2 separate regions of the Homo sapiens genome follow, and region 1 is linked to region 2. The links are contacts of gene promoters, found by promoter capture Hi-C in blood cells and fetal thymus (Javierre and others, 2016). All regions are on one chromosome and are shown on one strand. Each heading gives the region's core, a stretch centred on a gene start or on the middle of the fragment in contact. The rest is flanking DNA. Distances are from core to core; before and after follow the strand shown.

Region 1 (4,591 bases), core at 561-3,060, 190 kb after region 2:
GGATTATAGGTGTGAGCCACTGCGCTGGTCCACCATTTCTTTATTCTTTATTGTTGGTTTTACTGGTTGGTTTGAGCTTTTCTTTTTCTGTGTGTGGTTTTTTTTGTTTTTTTTTTTTTTGAGACAGAGTTTCGCTTTTGTTGCCCAAGCTGGAATGCAGTGGCATGATCTTGGCTCACTGCGACCTCTGCCTCCTGGGTTCAAGCGATTCTCCTGCCTCAGCCTCCCAAGTAGCTGGGATTACAGGCATGCCCTACCAGGCCCGACTAACTTTTTTGTATCTTTAGTAGAGACGGGGTTTCACCATGTTGGTCAGGCTGGTCTCGAACTCTTGATCTCAAGTGATCCACCCGCCTTGACCTCCCAAAGTGCTGGGATTACAGGTGTGAGCCATGGTGCCTGGCTGGTTTGAGCTTTTCTGATATTACATACAATGCTGTAACAATAAACGCGTGACTAAAGTTTTGACTACATCTCTGGGTTTCTTAGATTTCTTATATCAAGAGCAGAGCTACAGACCTTATTTTAAGACCATTGTTAAATTATTTTCTAGGAAATCATGCTAAATTACCCCATTTTCACCCCAGAGAAAAGGCTGTATTTGAAAATTCCTATTTAGCTACACCATCGTGAGCTTTGAATGTTGCATTTCTTTGATCTTGCTGGCATTCTTATAGATGAACAGCACAGCCAGTACTCCAAGTTGCTGCTGGCCTCTAAGGAGCAGGTGCTGCACCGGGTAGTTCTGGAGGAGAAAGTAGCACTAGAGCAGCAGCTGGCAGAGGAGAAGCACACTCCCGAGTCCTGCTTTATTGAGGCAGCTATCCAGGAGCTCAAGGTGAGAGGATGCATTGGAGATGCTAAACCTTTTCACTTTCTCGGCGTTCTGTGGTGAAAACCAGAAATGCTAAACCTTTTCACTCTGTCGGGGGTGAGATGATGGACGCTGGGGATTAAGTTAGTTCCATTCCACATTTAAGACAATAAGCAGAGAATGGCTAAAAAAGCCAATTTGTTTTGGGCTTTGTTTGATGACAGTAGAGAAGGTTTAACCTAGGGCTTTTAAAGCTCTTTCTAGAGCTGAAAGGAGCAAGTCAAAATGATTTTATAACTAATTGTGACAGTGGAGTTTTTTAGATTAGCTATGTTCTTAAAGCAAGTTAGAGTTCTTTGTTTTCTGGGAAAATACTTAAGATTCTATTCTAGAGGTGTTTTGAAAGACATTGTGGAGAAAGTATTATGGCCTGCCCAGTATGCCTTAGGAGTACCTGAAACGGCAAGAATTACACAAGAACAGAATTCCCTGGGTCTTTTATCTTCCACAACAGAGATTCTTGAAGCATCACAACCACTGGTTGTTAGGTCCCACTTTGAGATATTGATTGCATAGGTTAAGCTCAGTAGGCTCAGTAATTTGCATATAACAAGTTCTAGGGTGATTCTGATGGCTGCTCATCCCCAGACCACACTCCTGGAACCACTGATCTAGCTTAGAGCAATAGAAGCCCATATTTATTGAGTGATCAGCATTTGATAGGACTTGTGCTATACACATTTATCTCACTTAAGCTTCTAGTGTGGTAGATAGAACTATCCCCTTTCATGGATGAGGAAACTGAATCCTGGGTTGGGTAATTTGCTAGTAAGGGATGCAGCTGGTATTTGAATTCCCTTCTCCCTGACTCCCAAGGGCTCCTTGGGTAGAGTCCTGTGTATTTAACTTTTGCTTTCTTTCTATAATACGTTGCAGCCGTATTTGTTCAAATGCCATTACAGGCATAAGAAAGGCTACATAGAATTAGAGCTGTCCAGGCTGAGGTGGAGTTAGCTAAATCCTTCCTACTACTCTGGACCTCTGTCTGAGCATAGTTTGTAAAAACTAGGTTAGTTTCATGTTCTTAGATTTCTGTTCTGGAAGTTTTTTGTATAGTGTTGTTTGTGTCAGATTCTCTTTTATTTTTTTTAACTTTTAAGTTCAGGGGTACAAATGCAGGTTGTTACATGGTAAACCTGTGTCATGGGGGTTTGTTATACAGATTTTCACCCAGGTATTAAGCTTAGTACCCATTGGTTATTTTTCCTGATCCCCTCCCTCCTCCCACTCTCCACCCTCTGATAGGCCTCAGTGTGTGTTCCCCTCTATGTGTCCATGTTTCATCATTTAGCTCCCACTTAGAAGTGAGAACATGTGTGCGATATTTGGTTTTTCTTTTTCTTTCTTTCTTTTTTTTTTTTTTTTTTTTGAGACAGAGTTTTGCTCTCGTTGCCCAGGCTGGAGTGCAGTGGCGTGATCTCGGCTCATCACAACCTCTGCCTCCAAGGTTCAAGTGATTCTCCTGCCTCAGCCTCCTGAGTAGCAGGAATTACAGGCATGCCCCACCATGCCTGGGTTATTTTGTATTTTTAGTAGAGATGGGGTTTCTCCATGTTGGTCAGGGTGGTCTTGAACTTCCAACCTCAGGTGATCCGCCCACCTCAGTCTCCCAAAGTGCTGGGATTACAGGCATGAGCCACCACACCTGGCCGTATGTGTCTTTACAGTAGAATGATTTATATTCCTTTGGCTATATACCCAGTAATGGGATTGCTGGGTGAAATTTTATTTCTGTCTTTAGGTCTTTGAGGAATCACCACACTGTCTTCCACAATGATTGAACTAATTTACACTCCCCAGTGTCAGATTCTAAGCAGATTCCAATCCTTAGTGGGTATTGCATGCTTTTTGCTTCCTGTTTCCCTCAAAGTTGAGATATTTAAGCACCTAATTCCTTCCCATTGGGTCTCATTGCCTTTTAACTTTTGGTCCTGTTGAGAGGCCATTCTAAGCCCTTGCCCTTCAAGCTAAGTGTGTGTCTGGAAACTTAACCTTCTCTGGTGTTCTCTCTGGCCACGTTAGACTCGGGAAGAGGCTCTGTCGGGATTGGCCGGAAGCAGAAGGGAGGTCACTGGTGTTGTGGCTGCTCTGGAACAACTGGTGCTGATGGCTCCCTTGGCGAAGGAGTCTGTTTTTCAACCCAGGAAGGTTAGTGTGTTCCTGTTACTAAGTGGCTGCCGTTCCTCAAATGCTGTCATTGAGCTGGTAGGCATTACTGTGAGATCTAAACCTTCTCAAGAGAAGAGGGGACAATGAGTATTTTCTGTATGCTTGTTATTAGTTCTTTCCCCAGGGGTGTTAAATCAGTGAACACGACAGCTAAGATAAACATCTAGGGAGCTTGGCTCTTAGGTCTGCATTTGCCACATTGCTTTCGGAAAGCAGGAGATATCCTTTCTGTTGACTTAGAGTTTGCTGCAACAGGGTGTGCTGGAGTATCTGTCTGCCTTCGATGAAGAAACCACGGAAGTTTGTTCTCTGGACACTCCTTCTAGACCTCTTGCTCTCCCTCTGGTAGAAGAGGAGGAAGCAGTGTCTGAACCAGAGCCTGAGGGGTTGCCAGAGGCCTGTGATGACTTGGAGTTAGCAGATGACAATCTTAAAGAGGGGACCATTTGCACTGAGTCCAGCCAGCAGGAACCCATCACCAAGTCAGGCTTCACACGCCTCAGCAGCTCTCCTTGTTACTACTTTTACCAAGGTGAGGGTGCCGGAAGAGAGGGCTGGGTTGCCGCAGAGGTGTTTCAGAGGTGACCCGGTGCTCTAAGCAGAGGAGCGCCACTAGATCCTGTGGCTTGGGTGGCTTGAGCCCTTGGGCATGGGGAGGGGTGGGGAGCCTCCTGGGGACTGGCCAAGACTGGTGTGTGATAGAGCCCCTTGTCCTCAGCGGAAGATGGACAGCATATGTTCCTGCACCCTGTGAATGTGCGCTGCCTCGTGCGGGAGTACGGCAGCCTGGAGAGGAGCCCCGAGAAGATCTCAGCAACTGTGGTGGAGATTGCTGGCTACTCCATGTCTGAGGTGAGGCCTTCCTGTAGAAATGGAGGGTCAGGCAGCAGTATTAACCTAATCTCTTTGAGGTAGGCCTAGCCATCCTAAGTTCACAAACCTTCAAGGCCTTTAGTTTTTGTATTTTTAGTCTTTCTGTCAGTGATGGTGCTGTGAATTCTTTGTAAGTGAAGTGTCCCCTCAGCATGCCAGGGTTCTGTTAAATCAGTTAATGCTGTTCCCTGCTTCTCTGGTTCATTGATTGTAGTTTGGGGATATAGATATTTCTTTTATTTAAGATGGAGTTTATTTTTGTTTCTTATCCTCCTTATTGCTTGGGAGAAATGTCACAAATTTGTTGTAAGATTTAAAATTAGACTCTTTGAGTACTATAAATTTTTCATCAAACATATGCAGAAAAAGAATAGAAATGAAAATAAATGGGCTGGATGTGGTAGCTCACACCTGTAATCCCAGCACTTTTGGGAGGCCTACTCAGGCAGATTGCTTGAGGCTAGGAGTTTCAGACCAGCCAGGGCATTTCTACAAAAAATACAAAAAAAAATTAGCTGGGTATGATGATGTGCACCTGTTGTCCCAGCTCCTCAGGAGGCTGAGGCAGAAGGATCACCTGAGCTGGGGAGATCAAGTCTGCAGTGAGCTGGCCTGGGCGGCAGAGCAAGACCATGTCTCAGAAAAAAAAAATTGGGCTTCATTTTCTACTATTTC
Region 2 (4,632 bases), core at 1,626-4,125:
CTCCTACAGGCTCCCCCACTGGAATCTGTCCACAGAGATGGAACCTCCAAAATCCACACTGGGGCAATGCCTCCTCTCCTGCCAAGTCCCACTGGGCTCCAGGGAAAAATCACAACTGCCCATTTCTCCCGCCTGAAGTTTCAATTCCACACCTCCACGGACATGTCCATCCTTCTCTTTCTCCCAGAAGCAGCCGCCCCAGCCACCAGCGCACCACACACAGTCCCCCTACACAGACCCCGATGGGGAGATGGTACCCAAGCCACGATCCCACAGACCCACGCACACCCCATCCCTGACACACCCCACCTCCACTGTGACTCACAGCTGGCAACATAAATAAAACCCAACAAGTAAATAAAAGGTGAAAGTCAGAGCTCAAAATAGACTCCCCACAGTAAACCTCCCTCCCACCCCCTTTCCCAGGCTGGAGGACGCCAAACACAGACAAAGCCCTGGCCCTTTTCAGCCCCATCTCCTAAGGATGCTCATCTCACCCTCCTTCCTCCCTCATTCTCTTCCCCTTTATCAATCTTCCACTCCTCCATCCCCCAGCCCCTAAATCTCAGCTTCCTCAGCACTGCAGAAGCCATCAGTGCATTCTGAGGACAGGGGATGGTAGCAGAACAGGCAGCTTGATGGCAGATAATCACCAAAAACAATAGGCCACTGTCTCTCCATTTCCAGGCTTGGGTCACTCAGGCTGCGCCAAGAAGATCCTTTCAGAGCCGGCAAAGTTGAGGCCTGGCCTCATTTGCTCATTACTGCGAGCGGGAGCGGGAGCCACTGGGCAGAGATAACAGGAGCTGGGGACAGGCGGTAATTTGACAAATTCTTGGGCACAAGCAGCTATTGTTGCAGGTAAACGGGAGCCAGGGACTGACCCAAGCAGAGAGGCCCAAGGCTGGGGGACAGCAGGGAAGCATGGAGAGAAGAGATCCACACTATCCCTGCCCCCAGCAGACAGACACCCCCATCACATGGGAGTAACCCCCTCCTCTGACTTTTCTACTTTTCCATCTGCCCTGGAGCCAGCGCCCCCTGCAGGGTCTAAGACACGAAGGAGCTGTGGGACAACAGCAAAATGTTCCATGAGTTTGAATGCCAACCAAGCAGCTTCTCCTAAGATCTAGTCTTCCGAAGGGTCGTTTCCAGGCAAGCTAGAGCCTTTCTCATAAATCCCCTCCGTGGGCAAAGCAGGTCCCTGTCTTCCACACAAAGCAAGGAGCTCATTGACCAAAAGTCGGGGGAGGAGGGAAGGAGAGAGGGAGGGGGCTTCAAGGGATGCTTTGCCATTGGTCTGGATGAAGAGGGGGTGTCGCAGAGCCAAATACTAGTTAGAGTTCACAGAAGCCACCGGGTGGGTCAGTGCTACCCTGACTCACCCAATTTGGGCTGGGGGAGGGACCTAGCCCCACCCCAAGCTCTGCTCTGAGGCATCATGATTAGTACTTCTAGGGAGAGGGTGGCGGCTGCCTCTCCCCTCACCAGGACTAGGGGAGGGGGGATGTAGCATCTCATGGCAGGCCAGGGATTTTTCTCCTCCCTCTCCCCCCCAACTCTAGTGACAAAGTTTCAGAGCATGGCAGCCCTCTTACTCAGAAAAACTCCCTCCTTCCTCATGGACCCCGTCCAGCTGTCCCCTGGGGAGAGTCCTGACCCTCTCCTCCGGCAGCCTCCCTCTCCCAAAGGACCCCCGAAGCCCCGAGGGCCACTCACTGTTTTGGAGTCGAGCTCGTGCCGCGATTGCGCCAGCACTTTATCCACCCCCGCCTGGTCCATGAAAGTGACGAAGCCGAAACCCCTGCGCGCCGTAGTGAGGGAGAGGCAGATGGTTACAAGGCAGTGAGTGGCGGGTGGAGGGGGGCGAGCCGGGAGCAGGAGGAGGGGGTGAGGGGCTCACCTGGATCTCTTGGTCAGGGGGTCCCGCATCACCAGACACTCCTTCACCTCCCCGAACTGGCCGAAGTATTCGCGCAGCCCTTCTGTAACCACACACCCGCCTTCGGACCAGCCCGGGCCCCGCGCCCTTCCCCCCCCCCCGTCCTTTGCCCCCGGTGACCCCGGAGCGGCCCGGCCGCCCCCGCGCCAAGCTGCCCGCGCGTTCTCCACTGCCGCCGCCCCCCACCGCCCTCGCCCCGTTCCCGCTGAGCCTCCTGGCGCCCACCGGGGCCCCGGGAAGCCGAGGGCCGAGCTGGGCTGGAAGGGGGACGGCTCCGGCCGGGTTCCCGCCGCTCCGGGAGCAGCCTCACAAAAGTTTGAGCCGCAGGTGCGAGCGGAGTTGGCGCTGCCGCCGGCGGGTCCCGGGGGCCCAGCCCACCCCCCGATACCCCCTGAACCCCTCATCTGCTCCCCTCCACCCGCTGGGCCGGGTGCGCTCGCGGATCGCCCTGCGCTCTCGGGGTCTCCGGGCGGGGCGCGAAAGAGGGCGCGAGGGCGCCCGGGGTCAGCAGGGCGCAGGGCCGGGCTGGGGTGTCCGGGTCCGGGGCGCCGGGGGGTCCGGGGTGCCCTGCCGGACCGGCGGGCGCTCCCGGGCTCGCTCACCCTGCGTAGTCTGCCAACTGAGTCCCCCGATGAACATCTTGCTGCGGGAGGAGGAGAGACACAAAGGGCCCGCGTGAGCGCCGGGCGCCAGGGCGCAGGGGGCGCGGGCCCGGGCTCCGGGGAGGCCCGGCCGGACCCGGATCGGCCATGTTGGCGGGGCCGGGGCGGGCGCGGGCCAAGCAGGCCGGGCCGGGCCGTACCAGGGGTCGTGCGGCGAGTCCGGGGAGGCGAGGCCGGGCTGGGGCGCGTCAGTCTCCATCGGGAGCCGCGGGCGGCGCGGGCAGCGGAGCGGCGGCGGCGGCGGCGGCGGCGGCGCTCGGCGCGGGGCAGATGAGGAGCGCGGCGAAGGGGGCCGGACGGACAGGCCATGCTGCCCCCTCCCCCGACCCCGCTCGGGCGGGCGGGCGGGGACGGCCGAGGGGAGGGCCCGCCGGGGGCCGACCTGCCGGCTCCTCCCCCCGCCGCCCTGCGCGCATAAAGCCCCGCGCTCGCCCGCGAGCCCGGGCGCCCGCGGAGGCGGCGGCGCCGGGACCCCCTTCCCGCGGGGCTCCTGGGTCTCCGGGGCCGAGCGAGACCCCCGAATCCCGGTGCGGGCCGGGACCAGGGCGCGGCCGCACCCCCCACCCACCCCGGCGCGGGGGCCCGGCCGCGGGAACGCCCTCCCGGAATGAAGCGCTTCCCGGTGCCTTCAAGGTAGCTCGGTTCCGGATCGGGAACCCCCCCGGTCTTCCCTCTCAGGTCCCTGCTGTCCAGAATTGAAGAGAACCCCAATCTCCTCGGGTCGGGCGGGAGATAGCCCTAGTGCTCCCCAGTCCCCACATGCTCCATTTCCCCAGTCGGAGCGAGAAGCCGCCCTCAGAGCCCCCAGTTTCCTCCCAACCTAATTTACAGCCCCCCACCCCCACCCCAGGGCTCTAATTTAGAGCCCTCGCTCCGTTCCCAGGATCCCATATCCAGTTTGGGGGACCCACTCAGTGCCTCGCGTCCCGAGTGGGGAACCTCCATCAGCACCCCAGTAGAAACCGTATCCTCTTCCCCAATCCGTCCTCAGCCCTTGGTGTCCAAAGTGAGAGTCCCCCTTAGTTTCCCCAAATCCCTGCCGTCCACATTAGTGGACCCTATGGTCTGTTGAGAAAATCCCGCGCCCCAAGCCCGGGTTCTCAGTTTGCCGCCACCCCCACCTCCCGGTGTGAGGAGTCTCCCCTGGTTCTCTCCCTCCCTGGCCGGTTTTTGTGAGATCCATTCAGACTCCTGTCCTGATTCGGGAAACCCGGTTCCAGACACTCACCACCCCCACCACACCGAGGCTGGAGGAAAAGGCAGTGCCTCTTAGAGCCTCCTGTTTCCAGTTTAGGAGCCCAACGCCTCAGCTGTGCACCGTCCCCTCCGAATGACCCCCTTCTTTTGCAGAGGTCTAAGCTCCACCCCATCCCATTGGAAGAGCCTAAACTACCTACCCACTGCATTTGGAATGACTTCCCTCAGTCCCTCTTATTTTGAGGCTACTCCCCGTGAAGGCAAACACCTTCCTTTCTACCCCCATCTTCTGGGTCTCTGGGATCCCCCAGTACTTGCACCCAAGGCTCCTTGGAGTCACCTTACGTACCCCTAAAATTCCCTCCCTCCAGCCTGGGAACAACCCTGAGAAAGTATTCTGGTTCACCAGGGGAGCTGCGGGGCCACTCTCCTTATCCCCACCTCTCCTTATCCCCGCCTCTCCATATCCCCACCTCTCCATATTCCCACCTCTCCATATCCAAGCCTTAGGACCCTTCACTTCCCCAGCTGAAACCAGCCAAAAAAGGATCAAACCAGGAAGCTTAGGTGGCCAACACCCCTTCTCCCCATCCCTGCTGGGGGTCTCAGTGCCACACAAGCCCCTCCCTCCCAACTCACCTTCTACTCCTTCCCCCATCCCTACCTTAATCCATCCGGTGTAATCCAGTGACAACCCATGTTGACAAGCCCTTTGCTGTTCACCTTCACATTCCATCCTGAATTCAACACCTTTTATTCCTGGGCATCATAACTCTGACCTCTGGAAGGGTGCCCATCCCCCTCTTGATAGCCCTCCTTCCCTCTCCCCAC

What was found. Contacts are between HindIII fragments. The CHiCAGO score rates a contact against its expected background, and 5 or more counts as called.
Region 1: a fragment that was not itself captured here is called in contact with the fragment with the promoter of MSI1 in region 2 in 2 of 17 cell types (naive B cells and total CD8 T cells); the score reaches 5.1 in naive B cells.

What each region holds. Positions count from the first base shown.
Region 1 is chr12:120,560,049-120,564,639 of GRCh38, forward strand. It overlaps RNF10 (ring finger protein 10), which reads left to right. Exons shown (of 17, transcript NM_014868.5): 7 at 678-838; 8 at 2,897-3,022; 9 at 3,299-3,575; 10 at 3,762-3,895. Among named protein-coding and RNA genes, the nearest start is that of POP5, 19 kb to the right of the region's middle. The HindIII fragment of the contact is 487 bases long and covers 1,568-2,054 here.
Region 2 is chr12:120,366,289-120,370,920 of GRCh38, forward strand. It overlaps MSI1 (musashi RNA binding protein 1), which reads right to left and starts at 2,876. Exons shown (of 15, transcript NM_002442.4): 1 at 2,745-2,876; 2 at 2,545-2,585; 3 at 1,904-1,985; 4 at 1,720-1,804. The coding sequence starts at 2,803. The HindIII fragment of the contact is 14,859 bases long and covers 1-4,361 here.